6 separate regions of the Homo sapiens genome follow, and all the other regions are linked to region 1. Evidence: promoter capture Hi-C in 16 types of primary human blood cells and fetal thymus (Javierre and others, 2016). All regions are on one chromosome and are shown on one strand. The core of a region is centred on a gene start or on the middle of the fragment in contact, and the rest is flanking DNA. Distances in the headings are between cores, read along the strand shown.

Evidence for each region. The method cuts DNA at HindIII sites, captures the fragments that hold promoters and counts their contacts. A CHiCAGO score of 5 or more calls a contact.
Region 2: a contact is called between a fragment that was not itself captured here and the fragment with the promoter of MSL2 in region 1, in 1 of 17 cell types (total B cells). The highest score is 7.1, in total B cells.
Region 3: a fragment that was not itself captured here is called in contact with the fragment with the promoter of MSL2 in region 1 in 3 of 17 cell types (total B cells, non-activated CD4 T cells and total CD8 T cells); the score reaches 11.1 in total B cells.
Region 4: a fragment that was not itself captured here is called in contact with the fragment with the promoter of MSL2 in region 1 in 1 of 17 cell types (total B cells); the score reaches 5.7 in total B cells.
Region 5: a contact is called between a fragment that was not itself captured here and the fragment with the promoter of MSL2 in region 1, in 1 of 17 cell types (naive B cells). The highest score is 5.8, in naive B cells.
Region 6: a fragment that was not itself captured here is called in contact with the fragment with the promoter of MSL2 in region 1 in 1 of 17 cell types (non-activated CD4 T cells); the score reaches 6.5 in non-activated CD4 T cells.

Annotation. Positions count from the first base shown.
Region 1 is chr3:136,194,703-136,198,080 of GRCh38, reverse strand. It overlaps MSL2 (MSL complex subunit 2), which reads left to right and starts at 1,746. Exons shown (of 2, transcript NM_018133.4): 1 at 1,746-3,109. The coding sequence starts at 2,968. RefSeq lists enhancers at 1,199-1,498, 1,669-1,718, 1,296-2,042, 2,669-2,738, 2,043-2,789 and 2 more and a silencer at 1,939-2,328. The HindIII fragment of the contact is 2,546 bases long and covers 666-3,211 here.
Region 2 is chr3:130,741,833-130,745,210 of GRCh38, reverse strand. It overlaps PIK3R4 (phosphoinositide-3-kinase regulatory subunit 4), which reads left to right. Exons shown (of 20, transcript NM_014602.3): 2 at 1-725. Among named protein-coding and RNA genes, the nearest start is that of PIK3R4, 3.3 kb to the left of the region's middle. The HindIII fragment of the contact is 917 bases long and covers 1,288-2,204 here.
Region 3 is chr3:141,497,366-141,500,743 of GRCh38, reverse strand. All of the region lies in intron 1 of RASA2 (RAS p21 protein activator 2), which reads right to left. Among named protein-coding and RNA genes, the nearest start is that of RASA2, 12 kb to the right of the region's middle. The HindIII fragment of the contact is 278 bases long and covers 1,630-1,907 here.
Region 4 is chr3:130,896,349-130,899,726 of GRCh38, reverse strand. The region is part of intron 2 of ATP2C1 (ATPase secretory pathway Ca2+ transporting 1); the gene reads right to left. Among named protein-coding and RNA genes, the nearest start is that of ATP2C1, 4.0 kb to the right of the region's middle. The HindIII fragment of the contact is 295 bases long and covers 1,682-1,976 here.
Region 5 is chr3:131,022,311-131,025,688 of GRCh38, reverse strand. ASTE1 (asteroid structure-specific endonuclease 1) reads left to right here. Exons shown (of 6, transcript NM_014065.4): 2 at 95-215; 3 at 358-1,684. The coding sequence starts at 383. Among named protein-coding and RNA genes, the nearest start is that of ASTE1, 2.8 kb to the left of the region's middle. The HindIII fragment of the contact is 1,957 bases long and covers 649-2,605 here.
Region 6 is chr3:141,236,562-141,239,939 of GRCh38, reverse strand. All of the region lies in intron 1 of PXYLP1 (2-phosphoxylose phosphatase 1), which reads right to left. Among named protein-coding and RNA genes, the nearest start is that of PXYLP1, 6.4 kb to the right of the region's middle. The HindIII fragment of the contact is 2,464 bases long and covers 625-3,088 here.

The DNA.
Region 1 (3,378 bases), core at 497-2,996:
AGAAGACCTTAGAGTCTGGAGTAAAAATAGAACCGTGTAACAATTTTATTTGAAGGAGAGCTTAGAAAAGATCTCTTATGCAAAAAAAAAAAAAAAAAGAGAGCTTTTAAAAATGAGAGTGGCTTTTAGAATATTTGTCATTTTCCACGTATAAGACAACCAAATACAGTTTGCACAGCTAATCAAAATTAGGAAGTTATATTCTTACTGCTTAATATTTAAGTGTTGATAATATGGTAGGTCTTGTGAAAAAAAAACCTGTCTTCAAATGGTAATAGAAATTATAAATCGAGATTATATGTGTTCCCTTGATATCTTAACTATTCCTACTCACCTCAAGTGGCAGCTTGTAACTAACACGTACCACATTTACATGTTCCATATACGTGCCTGTGTACATATGTAACATGTGCCACAATAGATTTACACGCATCATAATTTTCACTTTGCAAACGTATAGAGTACCTACTGTGCATGAAAAATTATGCTGAGGAGCTTTGGTGTGTACAGAGATAAGAAATGCTTCCTATGGCCTGTTACTATTTGTGCTACTCAAAAAAAGGTTTTGTACTTTGAGATGGGAGGGAAGTCATCTACTAAGTCAGGCTTTTGTTTATTTATATCCCAGTGCCCTTGATCTCCTGCAAAAACAAAAGGCAAAAGCTTGTTTTAAAAAACAAAACATTTGCAAGGATTTGGGTTTGTTCTAGAGCAAGATCACGCATTCTTCAAGACATCTGTTCACACAGAAGAGCTAGGTCTTTTAAAAAAGCTAGGTCTTTCAAAAAAAAAAAAAAGGAGTTCGTTTTGTTTTTAAAACAGGACTCTGTTCCGGTGAGAGCTCGGTGAAGTCCTGATCGGCACCCATGAAGGTGAGGCCGCACGAGTCCAAGGGCCAGAGGCCGTGGGAACAGCGCGGGTCCGACGGGTAGGAGGGGGCAGTGGGTTCGAGCCTCCACGCTTACATACAGCCTGCCAGGGCCTTAGAGCCCTCTGACTGCGAACCACCGCAGAGAGGTGCGGAACGCGGCCCCGACCCGGCAAAAGCCGTCCGCACGCCTGCTGGGCGCGCAGCCACGTTGACTACTGCAGCCTTCCCGGCTCGGCGAGAGCCTGCCAGCCAGCCGAGGCTGCGCCCTTTCCGCGGTCGGGATGAGCGGTTCCAGGAGAAAGGCCGCGAGGGCGGGGCTTGGGGCCTGGCGCGGCTATTTCCTCACACCGCGGTCAGTCAGGACGAGAGGCCGCGTTCAGGCCAGTGCAGAGCGCCACATGGCGCTACCAAGTCGGGCCCCGGCGTTGGCGGGCACAGAAGCAGTGTAATGCGGGAAGCCTGCAGCCCACACTGGGGAAGGATGTGCCAGCTAACGAATGTTTCACCACAGCCCACATGCCTGGGAGAGGGAATTTGAGAGCACGTGGGGGAGGGGCGAAGAGAGCTGTCGGCTCGCAGAGAGCATGCTCCATTCTGAGAGTCGAAGTGGAGAGCCAGGCATGCGCAGTGAGCCCAGGGTGGGTTGGCAGCGGTGAGGGACTGGCGCGAGCAGGCTGATGTGTTTATCCGGTTTTCTGGGTGGGCGGTCAAAGCGCACGCGGAAGGGCGAAAGGCGGCGGAGCTAGGTAGCAGCTTGCGCATGCGTGGAGTGAGCCGGTAGCTCTGGGAGGCTGTGGAGGGGGTTGTTAGAGGAGAAGCAAGGGAAAAGGGAAGCGAAGGGAGAGGAAAGGGGGGAGGGGTGAGAGTGTGCTCTGCGCATGCGTGCGAGCGCTAGCGACGACGGCGGCGGGGGAGTCTCGGGGATGACAGTGGCTTTGCCCGTTGGGGTAACGGTCGTCGTCGCCGCCAGCAGAGGCCTGAGGCGCCACACAGCCCGCGGGATCCATTAAGGCCGCAGCAGCCCGGGCCCTACCGAGCTGGAGTGGCGCGTGGAGTCGGGGTGAGGGCGGCGAGGCACGGGGGAGGGGCCTGCGGCGGGGCCTTGCTGTGTGCGCTGGGCGGCGGCGGGGCCTGGCGGTGTGAGCGCTTGCCTTCCGCGGCCGGGGAGTGCTGAGGGCGGCGGCGGCCGTCGTGCTCGGCGGAGGAGTCGTCTGTGTGTGTGGCGCCGAAAAAATGGCCGGGCAGTGAGGGGGCGGCGCTTGAGTCTGGTGACCCCGGAGTGTGCGACTGAGGCGCGAGGGGCGCCGCCGCGGCCCGGCCGGGCTTGCCCCCCGCCCCCTCCCGCCCGCCGGCGGCGGCCCGCGCACTTCCTCCCCGGCCTTCCCCTCCGGGTTGAGGACTCCCGCCCGCCTCGCCACCTCGGGGAACTGCGGGCTGCAACCCACGGGGCGGAGAGCCAGGGCGCAGTCTGGGCCCCGCGTCCGATATGGAGAGCGCGGCGGCGGCGTCCGCCAGCCGCAACATCAACCTTCGTCGCCGCCGCGGCGTCTTGCACTAGATCCGGGAAGCCGCTGCCCGACCGTCGTCCTTGCCGTCGCCGCCGCCTCCGCGCCCTGTACTGGGATGGAGTAAGAGGCCCTGCAGCCCGGGAGAAGCGTGCCGCGCCTCAGACGGGGCCGGGGCCTGCTCCCGCGCCTGCCAGCTCGACTTGAGGAGGCGCCTCCGTGTCCGGAGATGGAGCTCGAGTGCAGGCCGCCTGCCGAGCCGCGGGGCTAGACTGAGCTCCGAGTCCCGCCCCGAGCGCCCAAGCCGCCGCGTTCTGCGCTCTGTGGTCGCTCCGGACGAACTCGAACGCTGGTTTCTCTCTCATATTTTTGGTCTGGAAGTCTCAGGGACGGAGGGGCGCCAAGGCCCCATGTGTGGGAGGATTGTTTCAGCTCCACAAACTTGCACGGATTTTGGTTACTTGTTTGGCCAATGGTTCGGCTCTGATTTCTTCCGAATTGTTGCAAATTCGCCATCGTTCCCTGGCTGCTTACTAAGTTGGATCCGGAATTTCTTTTCAACCGGGAGCCATTGGTGTCGAAGTGTCTGCAATGAACCCCGTGAATGCTACTGCTCTCTACATTTCCGCGAGCCGCCTAGTGCTCAACTACGACCCCGGAGACCCCAAGGCGTTTACTGAGATTAACAGGCTCTTGCCTTACTTCCGACAGTCCCTTTCGTGCTGTGTTTGCGGTGAGACGCTTTTTATTGTTCCCTTTTCAATGCTTGTTTTTAAAAGCCTTCTGGGCAGTGGTAACGTGAGCGGGTTGACGGCCTGGTGGTTGGTATTAAGCTTTTGTTATTTGTGCAGCGCTGTACGGTCATTAGTTTTGAAACTTGCTGAGGGACTTTTGCCCGGCGTTTCAGAAAGGCAGAGAACCCTTTCATACCGCTTTGTGCAGCGGCGTTAACGTTCAAAATGGTTTAATTCGCCTCGGTTCATCTGGTGGTGGTGGTTTAAG
Region 2 (3,378 bases), core at 497-2,996, 5.5 Mb after region 1:
TCAGCTTGCTGGCATTGCTCCCTCCCAGATCCTTTCTGTAGAGAGTTATTTTTCAGATATTCATGACTTTGAATATGATAAAAGCCTGGGGAGTACTCGGTTTTTTAAAGTTGCTCGAGCCAAGCACCGAGAAGGCCTGGTCGTTGTGAAGGTTTTTGCAATTCAGGATCCCACATTGCCTTTAACCAGCTATAAACAAGAGCTGGAGGAACTGAAAATCAGGCTTAATTCTGCACAGAATTGTCTACCTTTCCAGAAAGCATCAGAAAAAGCATCTGAGAAAGCAGCTATGCTCTTTAGGCAGTATGTGCGAGACAATCTCTATGATCGCATCAGTACCCGTCCATTCTTGAATAACATTGAGAAGCGCTGGATTGCTTTCCAGATCCTGACAGCTGTGGACCAAGCACACAAATCTGGAGTTCGTCATGGGGACATCAAGACTGAGAATGTGATGGTCACCAGTTGGAATTGGGTTCTTCTAACTGATTTTGCCAGTTTTAAGCCCACTTATCTTCCAGAAGACAACCCGGCAGATTTCAATTATTTCTTTGACACATCACGGAGGAGAACTTGCTATATTGCTCCTGAACGTTTTGTTGATGGTGGGATGTTTGCCACTGAGTTAGAATATATGAGAGATCCTTCAACTCCGCTTGTAGACTTAAATAGCAATCAGAGAACAAGAGGAGAGTTGAAGAGAGCAATGGACATCTTTTCAGCAGGTATTTGAGTGGGTCACATTTGCTAAGGGAGCATGTGTTTTTCTTTTAACTGTTAAACAGAAATGTGGCTTTTTTTAGTCACCAGATATTGAAAAGTTAATGTCTTGGTTTGTCCTCAGACGCTATTTCAGTTAGAGGCAGCATTCCTGCATTGGATATGTTTAAATGCCTAGGAAATGCAAACAGCAGTTTATTTACACAAACATATAAACATATTTGCTTGCCTACTTTTATTGTATGTGTCAGGCACTGTCCTAAGTGCTAGGGATATTGGTGGATAATATATTTTCATAATGCTTCCATTTTAAAGTGACCGTGGATATTGCAAAAGGACATTTCAATGCGGTGTTGATTGCTGTGGTGGTGATAAGCATAGGGTGCTGCTATAGGAACACATAGATATTTAAATTAGTCCTCATGGTGGTGTTGAGTCAAGAGGTGGGATCAAGAAAGGCCTCTTTAATAGAAAGATGATATTTACATTGAAACCTGAAAGTTGATTGGGAGTTAACTTTCGTAGAGTAGTTTGTTTCAGGCAGAGGATGTTGCCTATACAGAAGCTTAAAGACCAGAATATGATGCACTGATGTGTTTTCTGGAACACAGTGTGAATTAAGCAAGGCCCAAACTCAGCCAGATCAGAAAGGGTCTGGCCTGACTGGAGCATGGAGAGTGAATTTTGCAGGGGAGCTACACAGAAGACAGGAAAACAAGTTAGGAGAAAACTGCCACAGTCCAGGTAAGATGATTGTGACCGGCTTAAGATTGTGGCAGAGTTGGAAGGAGTGGAGAGAAGTGGTAATGCTTAAGAGATAATTAGTAGATAGAATTGTTAGGATTCTGTCATTGGAAGGTGAAGTCACAGGAACTTCTCTCGCCCACCAAACTGAGTGGATGGTGATGCTGGTCCCTGAGACAGGGAGACACAGGAGGAGCAACAGGTTAGGTTGGGAAGATGATGAGGTCTGTTTAAGATATGGTAAGTTTGAGATTTCTGCCAAGTATGCAGGAGAAGATGTACAACATGTATTTGGTTATATTTTTATTTATTTTTAATTTATTATTATTTTTTAGAGGTAGGATCTCACATTGTTGCCTAGGTTGGTGCCCAGTGGTGCAATTGTAGCTCACTTCAGCCTCCAACTCCAATGATCCTCTTGCCTCAGCTTTCTTTGTGTAGCCGGGACTGCAGGCGTGCACCACCACACCCAGTTGACTTTTTTTTTTTTTAACATTTTTGGTAGAGACTATTTTACTGTGTTGCCCAGAATGTTCCTGAACGCCTGAGCTCAAGCTGTCATCCCACCTCAAGTTTCCAAAGTATTGGGATTACAGGCATGAACTACCACACCTAACCCAGCAGTTGGTTATAAATTTTTGGGCATAGAAATCTGGGATAGAGATGGAGATTTGGGAGTTATCAGGAAATAGGTAGTAATTGTAGCCAGGGAAAGGTTGTACAGAAGTGATTCTGAAGCTTTTTTGGATACCCTTAAAAAATTTAATGAAATCAGTGGACTCCTTCCCCAGAAAAATGTACCATGCATTCATTCCTATATATTATTTCACATACACAGACCACATGAAGCTGAGCTATGGATTCCAGATTATTTAAGAATTTGTGGGATAGAGAGGAAGAAGTGTGTTGAGAGTGGTACTCTGATAGACTTCAAAAGAAATCTGGCATCGGTGCCATTTTTGGTAAATTTTGTGATGGTTTGGCTTAATTTTTTTCTTGCTTGTAGGTTTATTACAAAAAACATAAATTGAGCCAAATTTTAGATTATTTAGGAAAATTAATTGATGAATGAATGTATTTCATCTACCAGAATGAATAATGTTATTCAGGATTGCACCTATGTTGGTCTATTCAGCTCACTAATCTGTGTCCCAAGATAATACTGAGAGATGTTTTGATAAGATAGGGTTAGCCTCAAGGTTGTAAATACAGTATAACAAGGTTAGAAATGTAATCCATCAAAGTTCCAGTTTTGTTGATCAGTGTATTAAAATTTTCTTGAACCATTTTTACATTTTAAACTCACTAATTGTTATGTAATCCTTTAGCTTAGGAATTGCGTCACTTTCAAACTTCAGGGGATCATTCATAGGTTTAAAATTTCAGTGGTTGATAAGCTTATTTTTATCCTTTTTTTGTGCATTATAGTTTTGTAAACTTCAACAAAATTCACACTCAGCATTTATTTTTCCAGACCAAAGAGCCTTACATTGTTTTGGCTGAAGGTAGGCCCTTCCGTTCCTTTGAAAAAGAGGTGGGTGGCATCTGTCCACTTCCCAGTGCTCTTAAGATTTGAATGTTTGGGTTTTGAGTGCTACTTTCCCCTCTTGATGGATATCCATGGTTCCAGGCTGCTGGTTTGGGAGAAGTGTTCAGCGAGTCCTGACGTCCTTGATAGGCTCTTGGAAACTGCTACTTTAAGTGAAACAGTGTAAAGCAGGTCCATCAAATAATGTCGTTTTCATTATAATGAAATGGTGAGAAAATAAATGGTTTTGTTGTACGTTGTTGTACTTAAAGTTGCAGTTTCCAAGAACCCATCGATACCGTTGAGGACTTACCATATATATTCTGCCTCTGGTCCAGTACATAGGCATAGCCTTGTGTGCTGCAGATCTTTCATTCATTTTGACA
Region 3 (3,378 bases), core at 519-3,018, 5.3 Mb before region 1:
CTGGATATACATGTAAGTATGAATACTCCAGTACATTTCTATCAAATAAGTTATCCATTAAGAAAACTATGAAAAGATACTTTATGAGTATCACTACTGCTCATGTTAGAACCAACACTTAACTGAGCACAAAATGCCAGGCAGTATACCGAGTCATTTAACCTTTTCACAACTATGCTATATGATTAGTAAAACTACTATTCCTAATTTGTAGACAAGGAAGCTGAGGCTCAGAGAGGTTAAGTGATTAGTAGAAAAGTAGCAGAAAACCATGCTTTAAACATGCTACCTTAGCCTTTATCATTTAATCAGTTTTCACACACTTAAAAAATATTTTGTATATAATAAATCTTACACAAGAAAAAAACACTCCCATTGATTTATCTTTAACAGTTCTGAATGGAGAAAGGAAGAGAAGAACTGTCTTTATCACACATGACCTTCCAAAGAGTCTCAAATTTACCCCCTTCAGAGTACATCAGATTGCTGCAGGGTATGAAGAAACAAAAACAAAAAAAGGAGGGGGGACTGTCAAGAACTACTGAAAAGAAAAAAGTTATGTAGCTGTTATTTCCTTCCTTAGTGGCTCCTTAACTGTCATCTTGAAAACACCACTGGAAAGTTACACATTTGTGACATTAATCAGACAGAGAATGAGAAATAGTACCAATAGGCATATGGTGACTGCTGGAATATCTACCACTAAGCAGAGTTTTCCAATGCATAAATTAACATGGTGAGATAACTCAGTTGTCAAGCAATTTTCCTCACTCCTGGCAAATGACTTGTATCTGTAAAATAATCCAAGAGTCTATAATCCCACTCGATTGGTAATCTTTAAAAAAACAACACATTGGCCAGGCACGGTGGCTCATGCCTGTAATCCCAGCACTTTGGGAGGCCGAGGTGGGCGGGTCAGGAGATCGAGACCATCCTGGCTAACATGGCGAAATGCCGCCTCTACTAAAAACACAAAAATTAGCTGGATGTGGTGGCGTGCACCTGCAGTCCCAGCTAATCGGGAGGCTGAGGCAGGAGAATTGTCGAACCTGGGAGGTGGAGGTTGCAGTGAGCTGAGATCGCACCACTGCACTCCAGCCTGGTGACAGAGGGAGACTCCGTCTCAAAAAAAAAATCAACACATTAAATAACTCCTACCAGAAATCTGGTTCTGCCTAAGAACAAGGCACTATGATAAAATGAGGTAGTACCAGTGAGCAAACACTTGAGTGGGCACAGGACTCTAGGAATATGACACAGTTTGGGTGGCTAGCCGAGACTCAGTGAAGCAAAGAACTGTTTTTTCGTGTGTGTGTGTGTGGCTATAAAACCTGAACTATATATAAGTACAATTCCACATAAATAAGGCAATCCTGTATAGTGGTATTATATCACAAGGGTTTTTGTGGGTATAAAACCTGAACTATATATAAGTACAATTACACATAAGTAAGACAATGGCTAGTGACAAGACAAAGTCAAAGTAAACGCATAAATACCACTGCAACTCCTCAGTGATAAAGTCTACAGAACATAATCGGGGCTAGTTGCTGCATGGAAGTCATGTGCACAATAACTATCATACAGTTATCTACACTGCTATCATATTAATCACTTTTCACTGAAGCTTAATCTAGAACAAGAAGTTAGGAAACTACTATACACGAAAAGGCAAGTTTCACAAGGTATTGCCAGGAAGTGTCTATGGGTTATATAGATACGTCACCAAGTTGCGGGCAGGATCTTCCTGTGGTTTGCCTTGCCCACTTCCGGTTTCAGTTTTGAATGTGTGCTGATCTACAAGCTCCCTACAGACCCCTTCCTCAAGTGGCAAACCAAACTCTGAAGTACATATGGCAGGAATCTCTTCTGGGCTAAGCCAATGGTACCTATAGCTACAAGAAGCTTAGCAAGGCTACCAAGGTGACCAAGAGAGCCTGGTATGACAAACAAAAGGAAGGCAAAAAGCCAGGTGCTGGCAGAACTCAGGGCTACATGGACAGGCTATATATGGGATATGGCTGTTATTTCTGGTGACAGCATCCAGGGGGCCAAAATAGGATTCATATTGATCTTCGCCCCCCCTCCACAAAAAAAAGACACCTAGACACATAAAGAAGTTACACCCATGAGCATATAAAGGTGTGTATGTGTATATCTGTGTGTGTGTATGTATGTGTGTACACATATCCAAGAACCACTCAAAAGTACATACAAACCCACATAAGCAGTTAGGCAGCTAAAATAATTACATTCATGAACCCCCAAAACAGGCCAGAAGATAAATTCTTATGGCATTCAAACATCATAATTTTATTGAATATCCACTACATTAGACCATAGCCAATTTAGGAGTAATTATCAACTTCTTGACAACATAAATGTATTCATCAATTCCTTCCAATATATCATCTCACAGGCAGCTTTGTAGAGAAAGGGATGTGGGCTTTGGTAACATAAAGACTTTCTGAAAACTTGGCTCTGCTCCCTTACAATCCTGAGCAAATAACCTCTGTCTGTTGCTTCTTCTCTAAAATAGGAATAACAATCTTCTTCATGAAATTGGATTACATGAAATATTTTGCAAAGTATCCTAACACAACATCTGGAAACCAGGAAATACTCAATAAACATTAGTTCACCCCATCTACCAAGAATATTTTATATAAAACTGTAAAATTCAAAACTAAAATTCTGTACCACTCACACAAATGTCATATTTTAAAGGATCCAAAATTTTCAGACCCTTTTTACCACATTTCTCTGAAACAATGTATTAAAATTTTAAAAAGTTTTTCTAACATAAACAATTAGTCAAACAGGCAAAGTATATAAGAATTTGCTGTATTATTTCTACTTTTTTTTTTTTTTTGAGACAGGGTCTCACTTTGTCACCCAGGCTGGAGTGCAGTGGTGCGACCTCAGCTCACCGCAGCCTCAACCTCCTGGGCTCAAGTGATTCTCTGGCCTCAGCATTCCAAGTATTAATAGCTAGGGCTGAAGACACACACCACTATGCCTGGCATTTTTTTTTTTTTTTCGTTTGTAGAAACGGAGTTTTGCCATGTGGCCCAGGCTGGTCTCAAACTCCTGAGCTCAAGCCATCCACCCTCCTCAGCCTATTCTTACAATTTGTAAGTTTGAAATTATATCAAAAGTTACCAAAAAAACTTAACAGAAAAGTTGACTTTATTTCTTCTATAGCACTCAAAATGTTACAAAACCTAACATTTGATTACTCTTGTTTTGCAGATAGGATAGTCTTCCAAAGTAGAGCAACAGAGACTGGCACAGCTTAAGATTAATACTGTATCAAGTTCATTTATATAAATAGTTACTTTTGATAATATAATATATAAATATACTCCCTATAGGAAA
Region 4 (3,378 bases), core at 580-3,079, 5.3 Mb after region 1:
CTAAACACATCACAGGTTTAGTCTAAACCAACCTAATTTAACACAATTGGTGTAATTTATTTGTAATTCTACGATTTATACTTTTGTCGTAGCAACTTAAAGCCTGAAGACAGAAGATACACAGTTGACTCTTTAACAACATGAGTTTCAACTGTAAAGGTCTACTTATACTCAGATTTGCTTCTGTCACCCGAGACAGCAAGACCAACCCCTCCTTTTCTTCAGCCTACTCAAAGCGAAGACAATGAGGATGAAGACCTTTATAGTGATCCACTTCTGCTTAATGAATTATAAATATATTTTCTCCTCCTCATAATTTTCTTGGTAAGTTTTTTTCTCTACTTTATTGCAAGAATACAGTATATAATACATATAGCATACAAAGTATGTGTTAATTGACTGTTTATGTTATCAGTGAGGCTTCCAGGCAACAGTAGAGACTATTAGTAGTTTAGTTTTCAGAGAGTTAAAAGTTACATGCAGATTTTCAACTGCATGGTGGGTCAGCACCCCAACCCCCACATTGTTCAAGGGTCAACTGTATTAACAAATGCATATAAGTAGCAGTCATATACATCCAAGAGGAAATTATCAATTTAGCCTTTTTTTTGAGAGATCCTTTCTTTCATGAAATGATGGCATTAACCTCAGGATGCACCCTTTACTGCCTTTTACCAACATTTGTCTACATGAAAAGCATAAAGATAACCTTGTCACAACTGATGCCTGAAACCATTATTAAAAAGAATTTGTTTCAACAAAGTAAATGTGAGGGGACCTCTTGAACTGATCCTTAAGATATTTTAAGATGCTACATGTAACAACGGTGTAATTTAAAATTCATGCTAACTTTACCATCAAGCCACAGTGTTCCTGGCACCTTTAAAACAAAATTTAACCTTGCAAAACAGATCATGGCTAACTAAGATCTCCAAAATCAGTCCTGGGCCCCTAGGGGTGTGTTCCCTAGGAAACTATTTTGTTTCATAATGCTTTGCGTTAACAGACCTGAATTCTGCTGACTTTAAATGAATGACAAAAATATGAAGACAAATCAAGTATTTGGAATCCAACTGTCAGAAGGTTATTGCATACAAGTACTCTCTACAGCATCCTCTGGCTTAAATTACTACAGTTTACAAAATGTCATATATATAATCTCTTTTAGTTTCAACTCTTTTTCAGAGTACTAATTAAGACTATCATTTTATGGACAAAACTGCAAACAACATAAACTATATTTCCCACACCCAAAGATATATTTTTATAACCTGGTTTCCTATTTTCAGTTAAAGGAATAAAATTAAGGTGGCTTCTCATCCCTTTTTCCCTATAGCTTCTCCAACTATAGTAATGCAATTTTTTCTTGAGACATTCCTAGCTGATTAACAATTTGAAATTGAATTAAGAAACTGCTTTTAAAAGTAAAGTGTAAATACAACCATTTTCAAACAAAAAAGATTGGGGCATTGTTCTCTACACCTATTAGCTCTGTCTATAATCTTAAATTAACCATGTCCTGAAATCCTGAAGACTATTACATTTCTATCCACTAGTCAAACATTTAAGGCTATATTAAAGTTTCATGTGTATTAAAGTCACACTGAATTTTCTATGGGAAAGGCCAAATTTATTCCAAAAAATAAATCCATTACTAGAAAGGAAAACCTATGTGCAAGCTTCTCCAGCTAGACATATCTTTTCTAGTAAGCTATCACTTTAAACATGCAATTAACTTTTAAAAATCAGGTAAGAGCTGTTTACTTGTGCATCTCAAGATGCCTAAGCGGGATCTGTTTAGATTTGTGATAAACATGTAAAAACAAATTCCAAAGGATCTGGATAAAATCCTAACTCACGACTGAATGTTAAGTAGTCCAAAAATTCCAGGAAATTAACATTTTAAACGTTCCTAGTGACAAGCAGAAAGTGTTCATGAAACATCCTGGAGTCTACAGCTAAAAATTGGTCAAGCTTTGCTGAGAAAGTTTAAATGGGCCCTAGGAAAAAAGTCCAGAAGAATCTAAACCGAAGTGCCAAAGAAAATACCACCATTGCTGAAGGAACCAACACATGGATGAAACCATTTCCTCCCCACACCACTGTAAGCTACCTAAGAAACCTTCATGCTGATGCTCTAGGGAAACACTATCAATTCTACACTGTTCACACCCACAAATGTAACTACCTGCATACCTACTGGAGGATACTCTTACTAGGGAACAGCAGCATCACTCAATTCATCCAAGTTAACTGTATGTCAAACATTGCTCTGGCGGCTTCATTTATTACTCACATCAACTTTGCAAGAGGGCATTATCTCATTTACAGATGAGATAACTTAGAGGCTGAGAAAGCTTAGAAGCCTAGTAACTTGTCAGATTTTTCAGGAGAGGAAAACATTACTTGTCGGGCTTCAAATCCAAACCTGTCTCTTTCTGTACTGGACCCTGGCTTCTTGGTAGAGCCCTAACTTTTTCTGTAGGCTTAAAAGCACTAATGCCATAGAAAATTCCTTACCTAACTCCACTTATCCCTCAACTAACAATGACAACTTCATTTTGAGCATTTGGCTACTACTGTTCCCCCTTCCAACATTTAACTGTCATGACAATATTAATGCCAGGTGGCCTATTAGTATGTATCAAACATTCAGCTAGGCAATTTATAATTAACATTTACCGAGCACTTACTATGTGCCAGATACTGTTTGAATGTTTACAACAACCTCATAAGGTAGGTTCTATCATTATCTTTATTTTATGAAGAAACGGAAGCACAGAAAACTTTAATATGCACAAAGCCAAATGGTAAGCGACGAATCCAGCATTCAAATCAGTCTGCATGGTTCCACCACAACTCAAGCTCTTAAACGTTATCATTCCTACCTCACAAGAGAATTTATACAGGGTTTCTCATTTAATCCTCTCAATTCTGTGAGTTAAAGATTATCAATCCCAATTTATAGATGAAGAAATACAGGCTCAGAAAGGTGACGTAATTTACTTAAAATCACACAGCTTTAAGTGGTTCAAGACAAGTTAGTCAAGACTTGAATCCATTTTTGTTTCACACCTCCAAATTGTTAATACTACACTATATCAAAGAAGGATGAAAACTACAAAAAGGCAAGTGAACAATAAAAAGGCACAGGTATCAATCTATGTAGTTTAATATGGTCAGTCACTTTTGAAAATTTCTAGGCTATATACAGGCTCTTCTTCAAACTGTTTATATATAAAAAAAAATGTGACGATAGGGAGAAACTGACAAAAATGGTCTCTTGATGGTCAAGAATAACGGGACAGAAAACCCCACACGTTTTTAAGAACTGTATAATCTTTTACTATGAAACCACAAAATTCATATTTGGCCACA
Region 5 (3,378 bases), core at 378-2,877, 5.2 Mb after region 1:
CTGTAAGATGTTGACTATTACCACTTAAGAATCAAAGTTCACAGAACTTCTATACTGGTGTGTCAGTAATGGACTTCAACTGATTTTTCTTTAGAATTAGCAGCAGCCTCTGTCACCATCCAAAGATTACAACCCATGAAACCATTGAATTTGTGCCTTGTATCAGAAAGCAAAGGAGAATGAAAAAGCACAGCTAACATTGCTTGAGGATCTAGGTAAGAATTTATGATGTTGATATCTATGTTCTATCTAAAGAGCACTTCATAACATTTGCTATTGATTTAATGGTGCTGGAAGCAATGACTTGGTGCCCCATAACTAGCATCAATTGAAAATGTTTTCTGTTGTTTTAAACAGGCGATTAATTCTTTAGACTGTCATCATGGGTATCCGAGGACTAATGAGTTTTGTGGAAGATCATAGTAATGAGTTCTTCACTGATTTGAAGTTGCGGGACACAAAAATTGTCATTGATGGTTATGCTCTTTTCCACCGTCTTTGCTTCAGTTCAAACTTGGATCTCCGGTATGGAGGGGACTATGATTCTTTTGCAGATGTTGTACAAAAATTCTTTGAATCACTGTTTGCTTGTAATATATGCCCATATGTTGTATTAGATGGAGGATGTGACATTTCAGATAAAAAGCTTACAACTTTAAAGGATAGAGCTAGAGAGAAGATCCAGATGGCCCATTCCCTTTCTGTTGGTGGGAGTGGGTACGTATGTCCCTTACTCATCCGGGAAGTATTCATACAGGTTTTGATCAAGCTGCGGGTGTGTTTTGTCCAGTGCTTTTCAGAAGCAGATCGGGACATTATGACACTTGCTAACCATTGGAATTGCCCTGTGTTATCATCAGATAGTGACTTTTGCATTTTTGACCTGAAAACTGGGTTTTGCCCATTGAATAGCTTTCAGTGGAGAAATATGAACACTATTAAGGGCACACAAAACTATATCCCTGCCAAATGCTTTTCCCTTGATGCATTCTGCCATCACTTCAGCAATATGAATAAAGCTCTACTACCTCTCTTTGCGGTGCTATGTGGAAATGACCATGTTAATCTACCCATCATGGAGACATTCTTAAGTAAAGCGCGTCTTCCTCTTGGAGCTACCAGTTCTAAAGGGAGGAGACACCACCGAATCCTGGGACTTCTGAATTGGTTGTCTCATTTTGCCAACCCTACCGAAGCACTAGATAATGTTCTGAAATACCTCCCAAAAAAGGATCGAGAAAATGTTAAGGAACTTCTCTGCTGTTCCATGGAAGAATACCAACAGTCCCAGGTGAAGCTACAGGACTTCTTCCAGTGTGGTACTTATGTCTGTCCAGATGCCTTGAATCTTGGTTTACCAGAATGGGTATTAGTGGCTTTAGCTAAAGGCCAGCTATCTCCTTTCATCAGTGATGCTTTGGTCCTAAGACGGACCATTCTTCCCACACAGGTGGAAAACATGCAGCAACCAAATGCCCACAGAATATCTCAGCCCATCAGGCAAATCATCTATGGGCTTCTTTTAAATGCCTCACCACATCTGGACAAGACATCCTGGAATGCATTGCCTCCTCAGCCTCTAGCTTTCAGTGAAGTGGAAAGGATTAATAAAAATATCAGAACCTCAATCATTGATGCAGTAGAACTGGCCAAGGATCATTCTGACTTAAGCAGATTGACTGAGGTAAGTATTTGTAATACTAATGAAATTTTTGTAAAGTACTTTACAGGATACAAAGTGCTGTCTTCTATATTAGTTCACTTACTATAACAAACTGATGAGGTTGAGTGCTATCTTGCCCTCATGTCGTAGCTAAGAAATCTAGAACTTGAGTGAACTAGGTAATGTCTTAGCCAGAAAGTGTCAGTGCTAGGACTCAAACCTAGCTCTTTTAGCTCTAAATCTACCATTTCCACTGTACTTCAGTAGTCTGTGTTATCGTCACAGTTATTACTACTATATTGTTATTACTACCAGGTTAATACTAGCTATCAATAGAATGGGTTACGTGGCTGAAAAAAAAAGGAAAAAAATTCACAACTGCAAAAAAAGTGTATAGACACTAATCATAGGCACAACATCTCAGACTACATCGGATTTCAGATAAGGTTAGTACTGATGCTAAGGTCTAATTTTTTAACTTTTATTAATGAATACCTTTTTTAAAATAGGTTTTTGTGTCATTATGGTTATTTGCCTAGTTTGATACAGAAAACATGACTCTTAGTCTAACTTAGTGTTGCTTAAACCTGAGTAACACCCAGACCACCTTTTCAAGGAGAAAAAAATTCTCATGGATCCCAGTGTTGTCTTTTTATATTACATATATATTTAAAATTACAAATAGATATGAAACTATGCTGATAAAAGAACTAGATTTAGACATTAAATAGAGATAACTTAAAAAAAAAACAATTGCAATGCCCATTAGGGGATCTTCTTAGATCCAATGAAATATTCAGTCTCACAAAACTCACAGACCACACGTGGCACCAGTCTACTTAAGGATGTAGGACGGCAACCACAGCTTCCCAGTGGATTTAAGTCAGGTCTTCCTTTTCTGTCAGAGTTCTCCCAGCACTGTTATCAGTCTACACCAAAGCTTTATCACCATTGGTGATTTTGTCCCCCAGAGGACATCTGGCAATGCCTGGAGACATTTTTGTTGTCCCTACCTAGGGAGTAGAAGGGGTAGTGGTTGCTATCGGTATCTAGTGGGGAGAGGCCAAAGATGCTGCTAAATTTTACAACCTGTAAGTCTTACAGTGCACAGGAAAGTGTCCCATAACAAAGAATCTCTAGCCCAAAATATCAGTAGTGCCATTCCCTGGGCTATACAGCTGACCAGGAACTAGCCTCTTAGCCTCCTCTTCAGTCACATCTCAGACAGGAGGAGATGAATGTCATAGTGAATGAGTGCAAGAGCCTTCTTGGCATTGGGCAGTGAGTCCAAGAGCCTTCTTGGCATTGGCGAGTGACTGTTAAACCCCCAGGGTTTCTTTGGTTGGGGGTGAAGAAAATGTTTTGGAATTAGTGATGGCTGCACAAGTTTATAAATATACTAAACCAAGGCAAGATGGCTCATGCCTGTAAGCCCAGCACTTTGGAAGGCCAAAGTGGGAGGATCACTTGAGGCCAGTAGTTCAAGACCAGCCTGGGCAACACAACAAGACTGTCTCTACTAAAAAAAAAAAAAAAAATTTTTTGCCAGGCATGGTGGTACAGCTACTCAAGAGGCTGAGGTTGGAGGATTGCTCGAGCCCAGGAGGTCAAGCCTGTAGTGAGCTATGATTGTGCTCCCTGTTGAGCAAAACCCTGTCTCTAAAAATATATATACACTAAACCCACTGAATTGTATGCTTTAAAAGGATGACTTT
Region 6 (3,378 bases), core at 607-3,106, 5.0 Mb before region 1:
TTATTGAGGCCTGTTTCATGCCAGTCCTTGTGCTAAAGGCCAAAGCTTTACAGATGAGCTGGGTATGGTCCCTGCTTTCTAGGGGCTCCCTATCAAGCTGGAAGAGAGGCCCATGAGCAGACAATCAGAATACACAGGGAATGGATGCTGTGGTGGCACATGATGATGTCCCAGGAGAGTGTGAGCATTGGGCAGTGGGCTGGCACTGAGGTGAGGCATTCCCAACTCCCCTTCGGGCATTTGGCACACAGAGTAAATAAACACTTCTCAAGCTAAAAAGCAAGTAAAAAGAACTCGGGATCCTCAGCCAAGCCAACTGCAATTACTTAGTGTAAGTAGAGTCGTTAAACACCATCAATTAATGCAGCTGTTTCAAGATAATCAGCAGTCATTAGAGCAAGATGCACAAGAGAAAAAAAATCATATGCTGCTAACTTAGCAATGCTAGAAATTATGTGAACCGAGGATGAGACAGGCTTGCTTAGATCTTCCTGCCTGCTGACGTTAGCCACCTCCCAAAATATACTTTCTTTCTCAAAGAAGACAGTGATTTTTCACTTTGAAGACAGAGCCAAAAAAAATCAACCATCCATGCCATGACCTTCGACCATAAATGCCCAAGCTTTGATTTTTCAGGTCTGTGTTTCCATTAGGGACTGCAACGGAGACAGACACACTGGCGACAAAAGAGGTTCCAGTCTGGGAAATCAAGAGATGATCATGACCAGAGAAGTCAGAGCACCTGGGGAGCCATTTGTAAAACAGAGAAAGGGTTTTCCCCCTTTTACCTTAATTCTCCCTACATACAAAAGGTTGGCATTATTTGCTGTTTCTTTGTTTTACAAGTGTGGGGCAAGGTTTTTTTTTTTTTTTTAAGACAAAACTTCATTTAAAATTTCCAGGACATAGGTCTACCCTTGAACAACACGGATTTGAACTGAGCAGGTCGACTTACACGTAGGTTCTCTTCCGCCTCTGCCACCCCTGAGACAGCAAGACCAACCCCTCCTCTTCCTCCTTCTCAGCCTACTCAATGTGAAGACAATGAGGATAAAACCTTTATGATGATCCACTTCCACTTAACGAATAGGAAATGTTTTCTCTTCCTTATGATTTTCTTAATAACATTTTCATTTCTCTAGCTTATTGTGAGAATACAGCATATAATACATACAACATACAAAATATGTGTTAACTGACTGCATTATCAGTAAGGCTTCTGGCTAACAGTAGGCTATGTATAGTTACAATATTGGGGATTTAAAAGTTATACTTGGATTTTCAACTGTGGGGGGCCATGGTGGGGGGAATCAGTGCTCCTAACCCCTGAGTTGTTCAAGGGTCAACCATAGTTTAAAGTAAATAAAAATAAGCTGGTTGCCACTAAGATAACTGATGACTGGTTTTCCAGTCTGACTGCTGACTTATCGGTATGAAGTATTCCAGTGTATGTTGAGTACAAGCTGGGCTAATCACGCTCAAACGAGGCAGAGAAGCACTCGAGTTCCTGAAGCAGCAATCACAGAAGGATTTTCTGGTCGACAGCCCATTGCTGGAGGCCGTGCCAGCTCCGTGATGGCAGGTGCTAGTCGGGCAGGCTGCCATGCTGGAGCCTCTCTGTAGGACGCACAGAGCAAGCAAAGCGAGGTCTGAGGAGGAAGGTCCTCTCTTTCCAGCACCAGTTAGGAAACCCATGCCCGTCAACATAGTTTCTTTGGGTCAAGAAGTTTCTAGCTACGGCAGACACAGGAAATGCAGTGTTCTGGCTTCCTGCCTCTGGCTAGTCCCCTACCTGCTCTCAGGAGCAGCTGTGCCATTTCTTGCTCAGAGAACTGGGTCTCTGATAGTACCAAAGGTTTCTGGGGCTGCTGAAGAGCCAGTCCAGTCCAAAATAGTAGCCAGGGCAGCATTCTGTCAACCAGGACCAAAAATAGTGTTGGCAAAACCAGGTGACTAAACAGATCTAGGATCTCTTATCATGCTTCCCACTAACAACCTGTGGCCAAGAGTGACAGTTAAAACAACCAGCATGTGTCAGACACAGATGAGTCAAAATGAGTGCCTGTTTCAAAGAGCTGGCAAGGTCACCACCCCATGGTCAGCCCCTTCACAGCCTCTCATGGCTGTAAGTGAGCAAGTGCCTGGAAATCGATCTGCACCGCCATTCATGTCCTTCACCACAAACTGAAATATAATGTCCTCTGTTCCATGAGGACAGAGACTATTATCCTGTATCCATCATCTCAGTGCAGTCAGTTGGCGCCTAAAAGGTAATTTTAAGAAACAAATGAATAGGAATAGCAGCTAACATTTTTAAAGCATGTACCATGTGGTAGGTGCTTTTCTAAGCCCTCATCATGTATTATTATATTTCAGTTTCACAACAGTACCATGAAGTAGGTATTATTATCACCACCCAAATTTTACAAATAAGGAAACTGGCACAGAGAAGTAACTTGTTCAAGGGTACATTGCTAGTAATGGTAGAGCCAGGGTTTAAAGTCAGTTTGGCCTCTGAATGTACACACTCAATCACTGCACTGTGCTGAATACACAACCAACTCAGGTACTCTAGTATTAGGAAGTCATCAACAGAGAACCTCTGACATCTACAAACCTTGAGAAGTCCTTTCAGGTTTCTGGGTGCTACATACAGAGTTTTTGTTTGTTTGTTTGACTTGCAGAAAGTTTTAGAGAAAACCAATGCCTATTTTTATCCCTAAGAATAGGACCACCTACAATTTTCAAAAAACTATGTAACCACATTTGGTTATCAAGCAACGTGGGCAGGGATATCCAGGTTTACATAGTATTTCTCTGCTTATGAGATCTGAATTCTAGAGGAAGCCTTTTAACCATCCCAAGGTCCCATCTCCCCATCTCTAAGCAGATCGCAGGCTTATTGAATCAAATGAGATATGGACAAAGTTGCTTTTTTATATAGTAAGGTACTGTATAAACATAATGCATGATCCTAATAATTAATATAACTTGCATAAAATATTATATACTTATTAATCTATACTTGCCAAATTTTCTATACTTTCAAGATAGTTCATATTTATATCTATGTTTTAAGATTTAAGCTTAATAGTTTATTTCTGTAAGTCCCTCCATTATTATTTCTGAGCTTCCAAAAATTTGTTCTACAACTTTACTAACTTTACGGTAATCCAACTGCCACTTTCATTTTAGAAGCATAAAGCCTTAACAAGACAGTAAATGTTTAATTCTAACTAGATTCTCCTATGTCTGCAGAGAACAAACAGCAAGTAAGAGCTTCATTTTATTTTACGGTTAAAAGCTCAAAATGATACTGCTGGATCTCTGAAGGCCTGAAGGTTGGTGTTAGATCCAAGAATGAGGTAAGCTTAGGAA